3 separate regions of the Homo sapiens genome follow, and all the other regions are linked to region 3. The links are contacts of gene promoters, found by promoter capture Hi-C in blood cells and fetal thymus (Javierre and others, 2016). All regions are on one chromosome and are shown on one strand. Each heading gives the region's core, a stretch centred on a gene start or on the middle of the fragment in contact. The rest is flanking DNA. Distances are from core to core; before and after follow the strand shown. Region 1 has its middle 65 kb from the start of CDCA7L. Region 2 has its middle 130 kb from the start of CDCA7L. Region 3 holds the start of POLR1F (RNA polymerase I subunit F).

Region 1 (4,373 bases), core at 1,820-4,319, 2.3 Mb before region 3:
TAAGCTGTTGATCAAAAAGGAGAGAGGTCAACAAAGAGGACACAACCCAGGAAGAGTTTGAAGACAATGTCTGGCAGGGTCCGTTGGAGCACTGCCCAAGACAGAAACCAGTGTGATTGCCCATCTAGTGCGAGGATGGAAGAGCGGGCCAGCAGAGACACGCCATTATGTACTCAGAGCTTCTCATTCTTTGCTTACCATGCAACCGCCTGGTAATTTGGCCCCCCCATGCTGCTTATGATATAACGTGGAACAATTGTACTAACAACCCTTCCATCCAGTCTCTTTGGAAGTAATATTTTTTATAATAATTTTTATTGCATTCTTATTTTATACATCACTCTCTTGTAAGCTTTTTAATGTGAGTCAGCCTCCCTAACAGTGATCAATTCTGGGACTTTGTAAAGGTCAGAGCCCTCTGAACTTCCACAGTTGAAGGCCAAACTTTATACCCAGAGCAGAGATTGCTATTTGTTTCTTAAAATATATTTCTCCTTCTTCTGTTACTAACTGTACTTCTAAATTTTAGCTGGCTACACGGCCCCAAATAATAAAAACCATATTTCCAAGCTTCACTGCTCTATGTGGCCATATGACTAGGTTCTGGCAGAAGAAATACAAGTGGAAGTGATGTGTACAACATCCAGTTCATGTCCTTAAAAGGAAATAATGTGCCCATGTCCTCTCCTTGTCCTTTTTCTCTTTCCTACTTGCTGGAATGTTGACAGGTAGACTCAGATGAGATGAAAATGTCCTAAAGGATGGTGTATCCAGGAATCCAGTTCTCTAACACCACAGAGTCACCAAATCATCCTTGAACTTCTTACTCTCAATAACTACATAAGAAATAACTAACTTCTTTGCTGTTTAAGCTATTATGATTTAGGTGAGTAATTGTTACAGCAACAGAAATTGTATGACCTAATAGTGTACCATTAGCAGTTGATCTCCTAGAGGGCTACTGTTAAAGTTCCCCCAGGCCGGCCGGGCGCGGTGGCTCACGCCTGTAATCCCAGAACTTTGGGAACTGAGGCGGGTGGATCACCTGAGGTCAGCAGTTCAAGACCAGCCTGGCCAACATGGTGAAATCCAGTCTCAAGTAAAAATACACAAAAATTAGCTGGGTGTGGTGGCGGGCACCTGTAATCCCAACTACTCAGGAGGCTGAGGCAGGAGAATCGCTTGAATCTGGGAGGCAGCGGTTGCAGTGAGCTGAGATCATGCCACCGTACTCCAACCTGGGCAAAAAGAGCAAAACTCCATCTCAAAAAAAAAAAAAAAAAGTTCCCAGGCCACACTATTCCATTCATCATGCTGGGAGCTTTCCCACTGGAAATGTCTAGCTAACGCAGTAATAATGAAACAAGCAGAAAATGAAATGGTGAAAATGGAAACCAAAGTGCTAAGGGGAAATATGCACAGGGACAGATTGAAAGGGAAAAACAGCAGCAGCCACCGTTATCCAACACTTGTTACATGTCAGGCATGTTAAAGGATTAGCGTAGCATTAATCCTCACAATAACCAGATGCAGTAGATATTATTTCTGCATCTATAAATAAGCCAACGAAGGAACAGGCAGTTTAAAAATCTGCCCAACGTAACACAGCTAGAAAGTGGCAACGTTAGGACTCAAATCTAATTCCATTTGAATCCAACACATGAAACTGGCCAAGTCAAGTCCCATGAGTGAGTCAAGTTGACAAAGCAGCAATTCTCATACCTTCAACATCAGCATCCTGGCTGGAAGGGGACAAGACTCAGAAACAGTCAATATTATATACTTTAGAAAGATTTTTAAATATACTCATTCAATCCCTAAATATATATGTACAGGAAGAGGAGGAATTATTCAAGACAGCAACTATAAAATTTCATCTGATTATTAACCTGTAGCATAAATAACCACCATTTCAATTTAGAGCTTTCTATGGAATAACTTAGGAATCTGGGCAACCTTGCTCGATGCCTGTTGTTCAATTGTGTCATTAACTGTCACTGTAACCATCACATTGATCAGCTCTCATGTTTTTAACAAAAAAGATTGTAAATGTTTTTAACCAAATTTGTAAAAATATATTTATTGTTAACCAAATGTTTTTATTTAGTGATTAACTGGAAAAGACTCCCGTATTTAAAATGCTTTAATTTTTTAAAATAACTTTTTTTTTTTTTCCTTGAGACAGAGTCTCACTCTGTCACCCAGGCTGGAGTGCAGTGGCTCCATCTCGGCTCACTGCAAGCTCCGCTTCCCGGGTTCACGCCATTCTCCTGCCTCAGCCTCCCGAGTAGCTGGGACTACAGGCGCCCGCCACTGCGCCCGGCTAATTTTTTGTATTTTTAGTAGAGAGGGGGTTTCACCATGTTAGCCGGGATGGTCTCGATCTCCTGACCTCGTGATCTGCCCGCCTTGGCCTCCCAAAGTGCTGGGATTACAGGTATGAGCCACGGCTCCTGGCCTAAAATAACTTTTTAAAAAGCTGTTAAATTAGAATCCTATTTGCTCACCAGTTGATTTTCAGAATCGATATTAAAACTGAGAGCTCATCATGCCAGGCAGCCTGTTGCTTCTGGGGGCACATGGAGGAATCCAGAATAGGCTAGCCCCAGAGCAGCCTATTGGAATAGGAGGCACTCATTCCTATTGTAACTGAGTACCCCCATTTTTCAAAAAAGAGAATGAGTTAATATTTTTAAACTTTTTCTATTCTTTTCTTTTTTATCCATTTCCTTCTGTTCCCCACCTCCTACTTAGTCCTTTAGAAATGCAATTATAACCTTTTACCTCCCCTTCACCAAACACTCCCTACAAGGCAAGTTGAGGTAAGTATGAGCTTAGAAGCTCCAGAGTAGAACTCTTTTTCCACCAGGAGACTGCCTCGAAGGACAACAGTCAATCCGCAGCCCAAATCTGCCCACCACGAAGTCTTCTATCTGCAGAGTTTCAGCCGCCTTTACAACCTAATTCTGCCCAAACAGGTGCTAACTTGACTGCCCAGTAGATAAGGCACCAAAGCGGGTACTCATATCCCCACCTGTTTGCTTCCTACGTTGGGTGTTATTCATGCTAGGCCCCCTTTTAAAAGTGCCCGCATTCCTGTTCCAGAGGCCACTCGGTACCCTTAAGGCAAGAAGACTGTGCTGCTTACCCTAAGCTAGCTTTGGAATAAAAGGTCACTTTCTTTCTACAAGACTTTGCTCTTGTTAATTGCACTCTGCAAGTGGTAAGTGAATGAACCTGCAGTTTGGTTATGTTATCGATGAAGAGTCACAGTCAAACCTGACGGGTGGAATCACAAAGGTAAAAAGCCTTGGAGCGTGGGAGAAAGAGCAAGCGCCATATGGGAGTGGTTCTTTGGCCTTTCTCCAAGGGGCGAGGTTTTCAGAGCAGCCCCATCTTCTCTCCCATTCTTACTATCCACTCTCCTCTGCTCCATACCCCTGACACCTTTGGAGAGACAGTGACTGTGACTATGTGTCAAGTTGATAGTTCCTTGTCAACTCATTATAAAATGTCGTATTTGTGCCAGGAAACTTAAAGTTGAAATATAGATGAGCTGGTCAATATTTTTCTTCGGAACAATTGCCCCATCATTGTTGCAGGAGAGGTGAAGTTCTGTTTCCTAGGAAAAATCTGTAGAGCTAAATTACCTTGGTAGTTTTTAGAAAATGTAATGTGCTTGTCTGGGTGTGGTGGCTCATGCCTGTAATTCCAGAACTTTGGGAAGCTGAGGCGGGTGGATCATCTGAGGCCAGGTCAGGAGTCGAGACCAGCCTGGCCAACATGGCAAAACCCCATTTCTACTAAAAATAGAAAAATTAGCTGGGAGTGGTGGTGCACGCCTGTAGTTCCAGCTACTCAGGACGCTGAGGCAGGAGAATCACTTGAACCCAGGAGGTGGAGTTTGCAGTGCGCTGAGATCGTGCCACTGCACTCCAGCCTGGGCGATAGGAAGAGACTCAGTTTCAAAAAAAAAAAAAAAAAAAAAAGAAAAGAAAAGAAAAAGGAAAGAAAGAAAGAAAATGTAATGTGCTAGATTAATCATCTAGCCATTAAAAAAAAAGATGTGATTTTCAACAGTTTGAATGTGTGAAAATACTAGTGGTAGAATGTGAATTTAAAAGACAAGATACAAAATTGAATGTGCGTTGTGATTTGAACTTTGTAAACAATGAAACGAGGTGAGTTTAGATGGCTGAAAGAGTAGAGAACAGATCATTAATAAAGGTTATTTCTTAGCGGGATTTTCGAGTAATTCTTATTTTCACTTTTGTATCTTGCTATGTTTTCCAAATCTCTATAACGAGCACATACTATTCCCTCCCCACTTCTTCCCCCCTTCCCTCTCCCCCTATTTCCCTCTCCCCCACTTC
Region 2 (4,288 bases), core at 1,100-3,599, 2.4 Mb before region 3:
CTCCCTCTCCACAATTCCCACCATCTTATATTATTGTTATGTATAACACTCATCAATATCTAAAAATGTTGTCACCCATTGTCCTTTTAAGTTCTTCCCTCTAATAAGGACTTTTTGGTCACATTTAGGTTTTCTAAAAAATGAAAATAATCACCTCTAATAACGAAACAATGACCGTGTTGCAATTGAAAGGCAAGTCCTATAGTCAAAATTTCAGTGTTGACTTTAAATTGAGGCACATCTTCCTCGCCTTGATCTTGAGTCTTGGGGGTGGGGTTTAGACAGGGAAGGGGTCCCGGTAGCTTCTCCTCTCCTTCTGTCCTTGGCCCTGTCCTCCTCCTTTCCCTTCTTGCTTTCCCAGGTTTCTGACTTTTCCAGAAGGCAGCCCAGGGTGGGAGCACTGGTGACAAAGCTGGAAAGTTCTGCCCTTCAGTGGTGACCCCACACTAGCACTTGCTGGTTGTGGTTACCTGCAAGAACTCCGATAACAAAAAAGTATTATGGTGCTGCAAAAGTAATTGCTGTTTTGGCCTTTAAAAGTAATGGGCAAATCGCAAATACTTTTGCATCAACGTAATACTAAAGATCTGCCACATGCAGCAAGTGCCAGTGTTGGGTCACGGGAGTACATACTCTTCCCTGTGTAGTCCTTTCACGGGGAGTGTGAACTCTCAGGGGGAAAGGCTTGGGGAACTGAGTCCTTCCTTACCTCCCTCAGCCCCTAGAAATGTAGTCATCCTCCAGCCAAGACCACTCCAGTTACTCCTGGCTATCTTCCCAGACAGGACCCAAGGTGACCCTACAAAAATTCTTCCTCTCCTGTGTTCCCTCCCCACTCTGGTTCACAGAAAATATTCATGCAATCTTGTCCAGGCTGGGTTTGCAGACCAGCCCCCGAGTCGCCCATCCCTTGGATTTATCACTGTGGGCCAGTGTGTTGTGTCCCCTAAGCACAGGACATCCAGAGTAAGCCCTTAGAGTAATCTTACTGAAGCTTCTTTAAGTGTCTGGGCTTTCCCTGGTGGGAGGTAGAGGAGGTAGGAGCCACAGCACAGTTGCAGCTTCTTCTGAAGAAATCTGCCTACTCTCAACCTCAGAACCATTTTATACTGTGGATACGTATATTAGGCAGTAATCAGGATAAATTATGTTTTAATATGTTGTTTTTTTAAAAAAAATCCATATTAATGCAAAAAAATTATAAGCAAAATATCAAAATTATAAATAAAGACAATATCAGTACTCCGGGTTTTAGAGGCACACAAGCAAGTGGGCTTTCTTTCCTCTCCTTTTTCCACGACTCCTTCCCACTTGGGATGTATTTTCTACTGTCTTGGAGCCTTTGCCAAAACTTCCATATAAAGACCATGAGGGCAGGGACTTTGCCGTGAAAATTGCTAAATCTTCAGTGTTGGCATTTGGCAAATATCTGGGAATGAATATATGAGTTATGGTTTCTGATTCTTGGATGTTCTTTTATTAGGGAATTTACAGTGGAAAATAGCTGTGGGAAAAAAAGCTTGGCAATGCTACATTTCACTTCTACATGTTGACTTTACCTCTATGACATAGCTTTATTTATTTTTTAACATTTATTTTAGGTCTGGGAGTAATGTGAAGGTTCGTTATATAGGTAAACTGCTGTCACGGGGGTTTGTTGTACAGGTTATCTCATCACCCTGGTATTAAGCCATAGTTATTAATAACTTAAGCCAACAGGTATTTTTTTCTGCTCCTTTTCCTCCTCCCACCCTCTTCCCTCAAGTAGACCCCAGTGTCTGTTATTGCCTTGAGTTCGTGAGTTCTCATCCTTCAGCTCCCGCTTATAAGTGAGAACATGTGGTATTTGGTTTTCTGTTCCTGCATTAGTTTGCTAAGGATGGTAGCCACCAACTCCATCCGTATTCCCGCAAAAGACATGATCTCATTCTTTTTTATGGCTGCATAGTATTCCATGGCATACATGTACCACATTTTCTTTATCCAGTCTGTCATTGTTGGGCGATTAGGTCGATTCCATGTGTTTGCTATTGTGAATGGTGCTGCAGTGAACACTGTGCATGTGTCTTTGTGGTAGGACGATTTATATTCCTCTGGGTATATACCCAGTAATGGGATTTCTGGGTCAAATGGTAGTTCTGCTTTTAGCTCTTCGAGGAATCACCATATTGCTTTCCACAATGGTTGAACTAATTTACACTCCCACCAACAGTGTATAAGTGTTCCCCTTTCTCTGGAACCTCACCAGCTTCTGTTTTTTATTTTTTTATTTTTAATCATAGCCATTCTGACTAGGGTGAGATGCTGTCTTATTGTGGTTTTGATTTGCATTTCTCTAATGCCCAGTAATATTGAGCTTTTCTCATATGCTTTTTGGCTGCGTGTGTGTCTTTTGAAAAGTGCCTGTTCATGTATGACATAGATTTAAAATATAGGTGTGGCTTGCACTTATAAACCCAGCTACTGCAGAGGCTGAGGCAGGAGAATAACTTGAGGCCAGACTTTTGAGACCAGCCTGGACAACATAGCAAGATGCTATCCTAAAAATAAAACAAATTAGCTGGGTGCAGTGGCATGCACCTGTAGTCCCAGCTACTTGGGAGGCTGAGGCAGGATGATGTTTTTTTCCAAATGTGTTTTTGTTGTAGGTAGCATTTGGTTTTCTTTTTCATTTTACAGAATTAAACAGAAGAGTCACAATCATATGCTAGACCACTGCCTATTTTAGGTTTTGTTCCTGGCTACTAATTTTACTTTTTATTATTTAAAATTCAACTTACAGTAGAATTAAAAATATTTGGCAACCAAATCTCTATTTCTGTGCATCAGTACAATAAGGTAAGTATAAAGTCACATAGTGCAATAAAATTTCTCCTCTTAAAAGGTGAAAACTTTCCTTTCTTGGTGTGTTTATTAATCTCTTATAATACAGTTGCATTATAAATCACTCCTTAAAATACTGATATCTTATACACCTTAGCTGTCCTATTACTGTAACTTATTTACATTGAGCTCCATTGCTTCCAGAGTTGGTTCCTTCCAGTGGGTTCTTGGTCTCGCTGACTTAAAAAATGAAGCTGCGGACCTTCGCAGTGAGTGTTACAGCTCTTAAAGCTGATGTGGACCCAAAGAGTGAGCAGCAGCAAGATTTATTGTGAAGAGCGAAAGAACAAAGCTTCCACAGCGTGGAAGGGGACCCCTGCTGGCTGGGGTGGCGAGCTTTTAGTCCCTTATTTGTCCCCGCCCACATCCTGCTTATTGGTCCATTTTTACAGAGAACTGATTGGTGCATTTTACAAACCTCTAGCTAGCTACAAAGTGCTGATTGGTGCGTTTTACAATCCTAGCTACAGAGTGCTGACTGGTGCATTTTATAATCCTCTTGTAAGACAGAAAAGTTCTCCAAGTCCCCATTCGACCCAGAAGTCCAGCTGGCTTCACCTCTCACCATCTTGAAGTATCAGAGTTAAAGATTTTACATTTGGATTAGATTTAGAAATTACTAGAACTTTGAATAATTTGGAACTTATTCATGATTAACTCACAAAAATTAACACCAACATTTTCCCTGTACACCATTCACCCTCATAGACATACAAAATTTAATAGATATTTTCAGTGTTTCCAAATCAGAGGCATCCTGGAAGCAGATTTCTAGATCATAAAATTACAAAACTGGAATTCAAAGGGATCTCAAAGTTCCAGAAGAACTTCTCAAGAATATAAAATTTCTTCTCCTAAGCTCTTTTGGTTTGTCCTACAGTATTTCAGTCTCATAAAGTTCAGAGAATAACCTGGGCAGAGCTATTTTCAGCAGAAAGAAAAGATTGAGTGATTCAATAGCACAATACAGTGCTACTGTTGCCTGGAAGATATTTAAGAATGTTCCCCATGAAGCCTTGGCTCCAGGCATAGAGATATGGATGTCTTCAGCTCAAATTCCAAGCAAGAGGTTATTCTTTCAGTCAGTATGTTTTTGGGGCTCTTCTTCCTACTTTCTAGGTGAAAACATGCAAAGAGTACAGTTTCTGAAGGGAGGAAACACAGTCATCTGAGCAAAGGGGTGTGCATCTCCCTCCTTCCCACCACGGCCCCATGTTGTTGTCGTGGGTCACTGGGTAAGGATTCATCATGAGTTAGCCCGTGTGTCTGAACCTGTGGAAGTGTTTTCACTGGTTTCTTAGTGTGACTACACCAGAGACACATCAGAACCCATTACAAAAGTCATGTCAAATAAAAATGAACTCCAAAGCTGAGGCTGATATACCTTTCCACCCACTGAACAACA
Region 3 (4,007 bases), core at 755-3,254:
TTACTAGTTGTGAAAGATTATTACTGGAATATTTGATTTCAGGTAACGTTTTGTTTTGATCAAATTGTCATGATGTCCAGCTTGTTTTTTACTAAATTCTTTCTTGGCCAAATTGTTTTCATTCAAATCACTTACAGCCAGTCTAGATCCATCTTGACTGTAAGGTGTAGTCACCTGGAGAGGTTTTGATTGAATTGATCTGTGATGTCATCCGGGCATCAGGAGTTCTTAAAGCTCCTCACCTTAGGTGACTTCATTGTTTAGCCAAGTTTGAGCACATTGAACAAAAGGGTCCTGCACAGGGGTATCACAGGACTTTGCAACAAAATGAAGGTAAAAGCCATTATGTTTCCCATTTATGGACTTAAAAGTGTCTACTATTAGGTTTTGGGGGCAGTCTCATCCCACTATCATCTCATGCTGAGTTTGCAGTTATTTAAGGAATATTAAAGAAAATGCCTTTTATTTATCTTGTTTGACCCTCCTATCATCTCTCTAAGGTAGCAGGGCAAGTATTATTTTTCGTATTTTACAAGTCAGAAATCAGGTTTAGAGAGGCTAAGAGGCTTTTTGCAGTATTTAGGAGATGAGGGAGTATGTTAATACTCACATCACTGCTATACATTTCTCTTGGCACTTATCCAGCATAACCTGTTATATGTTTATGTTTAGATCCCACTTCCACTTAGGCTGTGAGCTCTTTATCACTTATTATTTATTAACTCACTATCAGGTTATTCATTCAAGATGTATTGGTTGGGTTTTTCTTGGTTTCGTTTCTTTGGAGGAGGGATAAATTGTGGGGGGCTACTGTAGTGAACAATACAGATATTATGGTCCCCACTTTAGTGAGTGTAGGAATCTATTGATGGAACAGGCAAGCAAAGACAGTTAATAAAAAATTAACATAAAAACCAACATAGATGGGTAACTACCTAATCCTTATAGAGAAAGAGGAGTGGGGTGCTTGAAAACTCTTTGCAAAGGTATAGAATGTAAAATCTAAGCTAGAAATTCATACATGAGTAGAATTTACCCTTGTGAAAAATGCTATTATATTCCCTGGTGGAAGGAACAGCGTGAGACTGCACAAAGAGAGACCTGAAAGTAGATCAAGCAGCATGATAATATTAGGGTGGGGAGTGTGACAAATGAAGCTGAAGAGAGAGGCTGTGTGCCCACGCAGATCACAAAATGGCCTTGTAACTTATAAGCCATTTTCATGAGTTTGTGTTGTCCTAGAGAAAATGGGGTGCCTATGTAGGGCTTAAACAGGGCACAACACGATCATATGTATTTCAGGGAAGATCTGGCTGCCCCAGAGTGTCCTCCTGACCATTGAGCTAGGCTTCCACAGGCAGGGAGTCCTGCGGTTTTGGCGGCAGGGAAAGAGAATAGTGTCCAAATAGAATGATATTTCCACTTTGGGCAATACAGGTCTTCAGGCTGATTTGATACTTGGGGATACAAAAGAGGATCCGAGGCTGACAGCTTGGCTGTATGATTCCCTGATTTAGCAGTTGCATAATGAGAAGAGAAGCGGGACAGGAGAGAACTAGTGGGTTCGTTTTCAGATGCGTTGCATTACAATTATCAGGCCTGCTTAGGATTCCGTGTACTGCATAAAATATACTCCATAAATATTTTGATTTTTTATTGTACAGTCCAAGCCTGTAAAATTCTACCAAACCCACCTCACTACTGGAAATGATCAAAGTGAGAACCCCCATTTTTAAGCTACCTACTTAATCCAATAAGCCTCTGTGCGAAAACACACATTTGCCTGCCCTTAAAAGAGCAGTCGGTTGGCTTTCCTGCGTGCTCAATGCATTTCCGAGGCTCTAAGCTCCCGTTCTCGAAGCGCGAAAACGCGGTTCCCCCTGCTGGTCAGGGCTGCGTAATGCAGCGAAAAGAGGGGAAATTCCTAGGGGCGTGGTCGTTGGTGGATGGCGTAAAACGAGCGCCGGGGACATGGGATTGTGCTTGCGTCAACGGCGCGCGCCGTGGGAACCTTGACAAGCAGCATGGCTGCAGGTTGCTCAGAGGCGCCGCGGCCAGCGGCGGCTTCTGATGGGTCTCTGGTAGGGCAGGCTGGCGTCCTGCCTTGCCTAGAGTTGCCGACTTATGCCGCTGCTTGTGCGCTGGTGAACAGTCGCTACTCATGCCTGGTGGCCGGGCCGCACCAAAGGCACATCGCGCTGTCGCCCCGCTACCTTAACAGGAAACGCACCGGCATTCGAGAACAGCTTGATGCGGAGCTCCTTCGCTATTCTGAGAGGTACCGATCTCTTTGCCTGTTCCTTCTTTTGTGCACGGGAAGTAAAGCAGGTGGATGTGCTGACGACGCAGCAGAAAGGGGCAAATGGCAAAGGTCGCATTGCCCCCCAGAGCTTAGCCCCCTGGATTTCTAGAGTCGCGATCCGTCCCTCAAGGCCAGTACCGCTCTGGTAAAGATCTATACAGGGTCCCTTTCATAGATAGAGAAGAAAACTTAAAGATGAAGTTCAGGTGTGGGCGGAGGGAGTGGAGATTCTTGCTCCAGAACCCTGGTGTAGGGGTAGGAAAAGACCAGGGATCTGGAGACCTAGTAGGCCCAGTTCTGTTTGGCATTCAACGTTTCATTTATCCCCTTACGGATGATGCTTTCTCATTTGACGATAAAAATCTGGTTTGCAGTGCTTGAGTAGATTCTCATTCCATAGAAGATAGCATACGAAGCATTAGTACAACCGTTCTATTTGTAAAACATGAAGGACCTTTTTTGTTGTTGGATTTCGCTCTGGTAATTTCCCCATTTTCTCTTCTCTTGGACCTGATCTGGGGATTATGAAAATGCCATTAGTTTAGCGGGATTTTGTTGTTTTTAAGAAGATTTATTCAGTCGAACTAGTGAGCCTGTTGCTTTGGGGAGAGAAAAAACCAAAACGTATGCATTTATATTACGGTATTCAAAAGTGACTTGAAAACTTAGAATTACAGAGGTGTGGGGCGGGGGGCGCGGGCATGTGCTTGAGTATTCCTCTGGACTATACTTTGGTTTAAAAGCGGGGTTCTAAAACTAGAGGGAATGGATTCTCTAGGGATTCATGATTGCCCTTCAGGAATTCCTATGTGAAGTTCCTTGGGCACTGCATCGGAAGTTTTTATCAGTTTCTTAAGGGATCCTGGACCTCCACCCATGTCTAGAATCTGCAGATTCTTCCAAGCACCAATATACACTTCTTGTATGTTTATATTACATACCGAACACTTGAGATACAAAAACAAAAAATAAAATCTCTGTTTCAAGGAGCTTTAAGCTGTAGGAGAGATACAAATACAAGCCAATAAATAGTAAAGTGTTAAAATTTGACAGAAATCTAATAAGATAAGGAGTGTAGAATTTGGATCTTGGGACCTTTGAGAACAACTTGATTGAAGAGGGTACTTTAACATGGTAACATTCCAGGCAAAGAGAGTGGCATAAACAAACGGATACTGGATGTGAACTGGTATGCTTTGCCCAGAGAACTGTATCTATTATATAAGTAGAATAAGGTTTATGTCAGGGGAAAGGCATTGGATGCCATTGGAGAGGAGGGCAGGGGGTCAAAGATGACTCAGAGAGGATGGCCATTTTGCTTTTCCCTTCCTGCCATTGCCAGTTTTTGTTATTTTGGGGGTAAGGTGGGGTTGTTGTTGTTTTTCCTTTTGTGTTTCTGTTTTCTTAAGCAGGGTTAGTGCTCCGTCCTCTCAGTCCCTTTAACGCTGAGACTTGGCACACTTTTGAGAAACTAGTACTTCTCTGCAGTCCCTGGCATATCAGATTTGCAGTTTAAGAAACAACATTTACTTAATGGTTAGCTACCAAATAGGATGAGAAAGTGGACAAGGAGAGGAATTAAGATAATGTTATAATTGTCCAAGAGAAAATGATTAGAGAGGATGGATTTGAGAAATTAAAGGATATACAAAGTAGTCATAACATTTGGAAACACAAGCAACTATCTTGTTTTCTGTAACCAGTA

The links. The method cuts DNA at HindIII sites, captures the fragments that hold promoters and counts their contacts. A CHiCAGO score of 5 or more calls a contact.
Region 1: a fragment that was not itself captured here is called in contact with the fragment with the promoter of POLR1F in region 3 in 2 of 17 cell types (naive CD8 T cells and total CD4 T cells); the score reaches 6.4 in naive CD8 T cells.
Region 2: a fragment that was not itself captured here is called in contact with the fragment with the promoter of POLR1F in region 3 in 3 of 17 cell types (naive CD8 T cells, total CD8 T cells and activated CD4 T cells); the score reaches 6.5 in naive CD8 T cells.

The regions. Positions count from the first base shown.
Region 1 is chr7:22,008,775-22,013,147 of GRCh38, reverse strand. No RefSeq gene overlaps it. Among named protein-coding and RNA genes, the nearest start is that of CDCA7L, 65 kb to the right of the region's middle. The HindIII fragment of the contact is 4,993 bases long and covers 573-4,373 here.
Region 2 is chr7:22,078,091-22,082,378 of GRCh38, reverse strand. No RefSeq gene overlaps it. Among named protein-coding and RNA genes, the nearest start is that of CDCA7L, 130 kb to the right of the region's middle. RefSeq lists cis regulatory regions at 576, 2,080, 3,241, 4,264 and enhancers at 504-648, 2,008-2,152, 3,169-3,313, 4,192-4,288. The HindIII fragment of the contact is 1,656 bases long and covers 1,522-3,177 here.
Region 3 is chr7:19,707,034-19,711,040 of GRCh38, reverse strand. POLR1F (RNA polymerase I subunit F) reads left to right here and starts at 2,004. Exons shown (of 4, transcript NM_001002926.2): 1 at 2,004-2,278. The coding sequence starts at 2,025. RefSeq lists enhancers at 1,852-2,131, 1,673-2,275, 2,242-2,311, 2,276-2,880. The HindIII fragment of the contact is 8,345 bases long and covers 1-4,007 here.